Linked DNA regions of Homo sapiens: region 1 is linked to region 2. Evidence: promoter capture Hi-C in human tissues and cell types (Jung and others, 2019). All regions are on one chromosome and are shown on one strand. The core of a region is centred on a gene start or on the middle of the fragment in contact, and the rest is flanking DNA. Distances in the headings are between cores, read along the strand shown.

Region 1 (2,700 bases), core at 2-2,501, 210 kb before region 2:
GGCAGGTTTGGGAGCTGAGCGACCAGAAACAGGTACTTTTTTGTATATACCTGTGTGAGTGGTGAGGTGGACAGTAATGAAAATGTCCTTTGCAAGTTGGCACATTTAACCGAAGTTCTAAGAGTAATCATATTACTCACCATTTGGAAAATTATACCCATTGTTAGCTGACTGGATTAAAGCACATGATAGTTTACCTTTTAACAGCATAATGCAATATTAGAAATAGTTGAAGAAATTGGAAGGAGTTTCAGAAATGTAGCTGAGTTTCTCCTGGGCTTAAGGGACTTTATAGCTCATGTTCAAATGCACCACTGTCTCTCTGAATTACAGATGATCTGTTTTTCTAACAATACGACCTGACGATTTTTTTTTTTTTTAAGAGACAGGGTCTCACTCTGTTGCCCAGACTGGAGTGTAGTGGCACAATCTTGGCTCACTGCAGCCTCGACCTCCTGGGCTCAAGGGATCCTCTTGCCTCACCCTCCCAGGTAGCTGGGACTACAGGTGTGTGCTACCATACTTGGCTAATTTTTTAATTTTTTGTAGAGATGGAGTCTCGCTGTATTGCCCAGGCTGGTCTCAAACTCCTGGCCTAAAGTGATCCTCCTGCCCTGGCCTCCCAGCAAATTTTTTAAAATAAATTGGCTGGGCACGGTGGCTCCCACCTGTAATCCCAGCACTTTGGGAGGCCGAGGTGGGCGGATCACCTGAGGTCAGGAATTCGAGACCAGCCTGACCAACATGGAGAAACCCCATCTCTACTAAAAATACAAAATTAGCCGGGTGTGGTGGTGCATGCCTGTAATCCCAGCTATTCGGGAGGCTGAGGCAGGAGAATCGCTTGAACCTGGGAGGTGGAGGTTGTGGTGAACAAAGATTGCTCCATTGCACTCCAGCCTGGGCAACAAGAGCAAAACTCTGTCAAAAAAAAAAAAAAATTCTCCTGGATAATAAGGCTCTTTGAAAGGAGGATTACTCATTGTTTTACGTAGGAATATATGATGAGTATTATTTAGCAAGACTGTTGCTAAAGAATATCTGATGAGCTGAAAACATTCTTAGTAAATTGAATAAATGTTTAAGGGAAAAAATACGTAGTATTTATATTTCATTGTTTCAACTTGAGACCATTTCAGATCACTTCGGAAGTAATTTAATTCATCGGAGTATTTGTAATATATGTTTCTAAAAAAGTTTAGTTCTAAAGATCAGAGAAAAAGCATGACACAAAGCGTTTTGACTATTTTATGAATATGTGAATTGAAAGAGAATGTACATAATCATGTAGTTTCCGTTGGCATTGGCCGGTTTGTAATTTCACAAGAGTCAGATGAGGTCATCTACCTGCAGTATGTGAAGGTGAATGTAAAGTCATGTGACTGGACATGATGAAGATGAAGAGGGACTCTCGTTTCTTTCTGTTTAAGCCAACACAGCTCAGAGTCCTTATAAGAAACTGAAAGAAGCATTATCGTCAGTGGAAGCTTTTGAAAAACACTACTTAGTAAGTATTAACAAGTGTTCAATGTCTGTTCTGTGAATACCTGTCTCTAGAAGGCTTTGCTACATGGCCTGTTGAGTTGGGAAGGAACTGGTGTGGGGGGCCCCTTCTTGTTGGTTTTTTTTAGTTTCTTTGGTACCTGGGGAGTTGTGGACAAAACATGGAGTAGTTCATCAAATGTGTATTAGTGCCCATGGTACCATGCTAGGCATGGAATCATCTTTGAATATTTACCGTTTTGTTCAAATTGGGTTTGCTCACACAGAAATTATAAGAGAGGCTAGTGAATACTTTTCTTTGTAAAAAGGAGTAATTTGGACTTGGGCAGAGCTATTGTATTTGATTTTGAAAGACTTAAATTAGCAAAACTTTAAAAAACGGCGTAGGCAGAAGTGTGGTGGGTCAGCGTCATTCCCGGGTCATGGGCAACTTGAGCGTTTGGTCTGCCCGTAATGGCTGTACCTCTTATACACACAAGTATGAAAAATACCCAGCATGTCACCCACGTGCAGAAAGTCCTTGGAAAAGTTAGATGTTTTGGATGAGTTTGTGGGTTTCTTTTATTATTATGCTTCATAATTTATACACAGGTTACCAATTTTGCTTATATATTACAGAAAAATTCACAAAAATAGATGCAAAGGAAAAAATAATGTTACATTATTAGCAATGTCTTCTGCGGGCTGGGCATGGTGGCTCACGCCTGTAATTCAGCACTTTGGGAGGCTGAGGCAGGTGGATCACTTGAGGTCAGGAGTTTGAGACCAGCCTAGCCAACATGGTGAAATCCTGTCTCTGCTAAAGATACAAAAAATTAGCCGGGCCTGGTGGCGCCTGTAGTCCCAGCTACTTGGGAAGCTGAGGCACAAGAATCACTTCAACCTATGAGGCGGAGGTTGCAGTGAGCTGAGATCTCACCGCTGTGCTCCAGCCTGGGCGATGGAGCAAGACTCTGTCTCAAAACAAAAACCCAACAATGTCTTTTGTGTGAGCTTTAGGTGAATAAATGTAGTATTTGTCCATCATTAAAAGTTCAAGTACATAATTGTGTTTTTACTTCCCCACAGGATTTGTCCCATGCCACCATTGAAATGTATACAAGCATTGGGAGGATTCGATCTGCTAAGTTTGTTGGAAAAGATCTGGCAGAGTTTTACATGTAATTGATTTTGTACTTTTCTTTGAATTCTAAACAT
Region 2 (2,700 bases), core at 103-2,602:
CGGTAGGAGAAACCGAGACCGACCCCTGGTCTAGAGGAGAGGTGTCTGCCGCTCTCCATCCTGGACTCTGGCTGCCCAAAAGCAAACGGCACGCCTGCCCACGTGGGAATCTTGGTGGCGTCTCTCACTGCATCAGTTAGCCCCCAGCCCAGTGCTGCCTGGATTCAGGCTTCCTGGTACCTTCGTCCACCCTTCAGCCCTAATCCATGCTGGCCAGGTCATCTCGTTCTCTGGCTCAGTGGGAACACTCGTGCCCAGAGACCTCTCGTGGTTCTCTGCAGCCTGCACACAGGGCCTGCTTCCCTGGCTTGACCGCACAGACAAGGGGACTGTTACCAAGGCCTCCCACTGAGGCCACCCCCCCTCCAGGCCATGCCTGCGGGGCCACCACAGCCTCAGCATCATTGCAGGCCCCAGGCCTCTGCACCTGGTCTTGTTTTACTGGGGGCACTGTCCCCACTCACGTCCACCTGGGACCCTCGGCTCCTGTCCACTGCAGCTCCCCTCCCGGACACCTTCCCAGATGCCCCCGGAAGCTCCTGTCCAGGCCACAGCATCCCTCAGCCTCTGTCACTGGTCCTAGGAAGACCCTTTGGGAGCTCTCACTCAGGGCCACACTCAGGACCCCCGTTGTGGGGCTGGCCGCCTTCCTTCTAAAGCACCTGGAGGAAGGAAGGAGGGGGTCAATGCGAGCCTCAATCCCCAGGCGAGTGTGCCCCTTTTAAAGATGAGGGAACCGAGGCTCAGAGAAGGAAAGGACTTGCCTGGCGTCACACAGCTAGCCTAAGATGGTGAGGTCAGGAGCTCCCTGGCAACACCCAGGCTGCCGTACCGTCTCCTGCATCAGACTGAGCCTCCATCGGGCTCCTCCCACAGCCCCAGGCGGGCCCCTGAGTAGGGGCTCTCAGCTTGTGTGGAGGTCCCCCAGGAACACCACCCCGATCCAGCCTCCATGGAGGCTCTTGCCGGCCACTGGGAGGGGCCGGTGCACCCTGGGCAGCCCCTGCCAGGGCCCTGAGACCCGAGCCTCCCCGCCGAGGGCACCTGTCTCGGCTTTGCCCCATTCGAGCAGGGCCCTCGCCGAGGCAGGACAGGGCCACATTCGGAAGTGAGAGTTCTCTGAGTCCCGCACAGAGCGAGTCTCTGTCCCCAGCCCCCAAGGCAGCTGCCCTGGTGGGTGAGTCAGGCCAGGCCCGGAGACTTCCCGAGAGCGAGGGAGGGACAGCAGCGCCTCCATCACAGGGAAGTGTCCCTGCGGGAGGCCCTGGCCCTGATTGGGCGCCGGGGCGGAGCGGCCTTTGCTCTTTGCGTGGTCGCGGGGGTATAACAGCGGCGCGCGTGGCTCGCAGACCGGGGAGACGGGCGGGCGCACAGCCGGCGCGGAGGCCCCACAGCCCCGCCGGGACCCGAGGCCAAGCGAGGGGCTGCCAGTGTCCCGGGACCCACCGCGTCCGCCCCAGCCCCGGGTCCCCGCGCCCACCCCATGGCGACGGACGCGGCGCTACGCCGGCTTCTGAGGCTGCACCGCACGGAGATCGCGGTGGCCGTGGACAGCGCCTTCCCACTGCTGCACGCGCTGGCTGACCACGACGTGGTCCCCGAGGACAAGTTTCAGGTGGGCTCCCCGCCCGCCCCCCGCTGCCCCCAGGCCCTGTGAGCCAGGGATAGTCCCCGGGGAAGTTCCAGGAGGACCCCGCCCCTCCAGATCCCCAAGCCCCTCCAGCCTTCCCCAACTCCCTCCCCACAAGGAGCCAGGGGCGTCCCTGATGACAAGTTAGAAGTTGGTCCCCTTCCCCCAGCCGTCCCCACACCTCACCCCCAAGCCAAGGGAATGGCCTCCAGGTTCCCCCAGCCCCACCCTCAACACCCCTACACCACCACCTGACTCCACCACAAGCCGAGGAGATGGGCGTGGAGCTGTCCAGGTCGCCAGCGCCTCTGCCTGGGAGCTCCACCCTCTAGTCATGATGGAGATGGGCAGGCCGCAGGGTGTGGGGGACCATGGCAGGGACCCTCATGCCACCCCACTGCAGGAGACGCTTCATCTGAAGGAAAAGGAGGGCTGCCCCCAGGCCTTCCACGCCCTCCTGTCCTGGCTGCTGACCCAGGACTCCACAGCCATCCTGGACTTCTGGAGGGTGCTGTTCAAGGACTACAACCTGGAGCGCTATGGCCGGCTGCAGCCCATCCTGGACAGCTTCCCCAAAGGTGGGTCCTGGTGGACTCAGCCATGCTGGGGGCCTGGGGCAGCTGCTGTCACCTGCTCAGCCCAGCTGGACTGGAACCGGAGTGGTGTTTGAGGAGCCCGTGGGTGATGTTCCAGGACCGTCTTGGATCCTAAGAGGCAAAGGGGCCAGGCCTCACCTGTCTGGCCAAGGTGTCCAGTTCTGGGGCCCACCCTACCCCTGGAGAAAACCCTGAGGTTGGGACCCTGCTCCTGCCCCTGAGCTGCAGATGTGGACCTCAGCCAGCCCCGGAAGGGGAGGAAGCCCCCGGCCGTCCCCAAGGCTTTGGTACCGCCACCCAGACTCCCCACCAAGAGGAAGGCCTCAGAAGAGGCTCGAGCTGCCGCGCCAGCAGCCCTGACTCCAAGGGGCACCGCCAGCCCAGGTACCCTCCCTGCAGGGGAAGCCAGCCAGGGTCTCCAGTCTTCCCGGGCTTCCCCGGGAGCCCACGCCCCCTCCCCACCCGGGCTCCCAC

Evidence for each region. Contacts are between HindIII fragments. The study calls those that stand out against the background at their distance.
Region 1: a fragment that was not itself captured here is called in contact with the fragment with the promoter of AIRE in region 2 in 1 of the 25 tissues and cell types used here (dorsolateral prefrontal cortex).

Annotation. Positions count from the first base shown.
Region 1 is chr21:44,075,122-44,077,821 of GRCh38, forward strand. It overlaps TRAPPC10 (trafficking protein particle complex subunit 10), which reads left to right. Exons shown (of 23, transcript NM_003274.5): 9 at 1-32; 10 at 1,431-1,507; 11 at 2,572-2,663. Among named protein-coding and RNA genes, the nearest start is that of PWP2, 31 kb to the right of the region's middle. The HindIII fragment of the contact is 7,831 bases long and covers 1-2,700 here.
Region 2 is chr21:44,284,524-44,287,223 of GRCh38, forward strand. It overlaps AIRE (autoimmune regulator), which reads left to right and starts at 1,353. Exons shown (of 14, transcript NM_000383.4): 1 at 1,353-1,615; 2 at 2,034-2,208; 3 at 2,455-2,610. The coding sequence starts at 1,484. RefSeq lists enhancers at 1-230, 231-832. The HindIII fragment of the contact is 44,459 bases long and covers 1-2,700 here.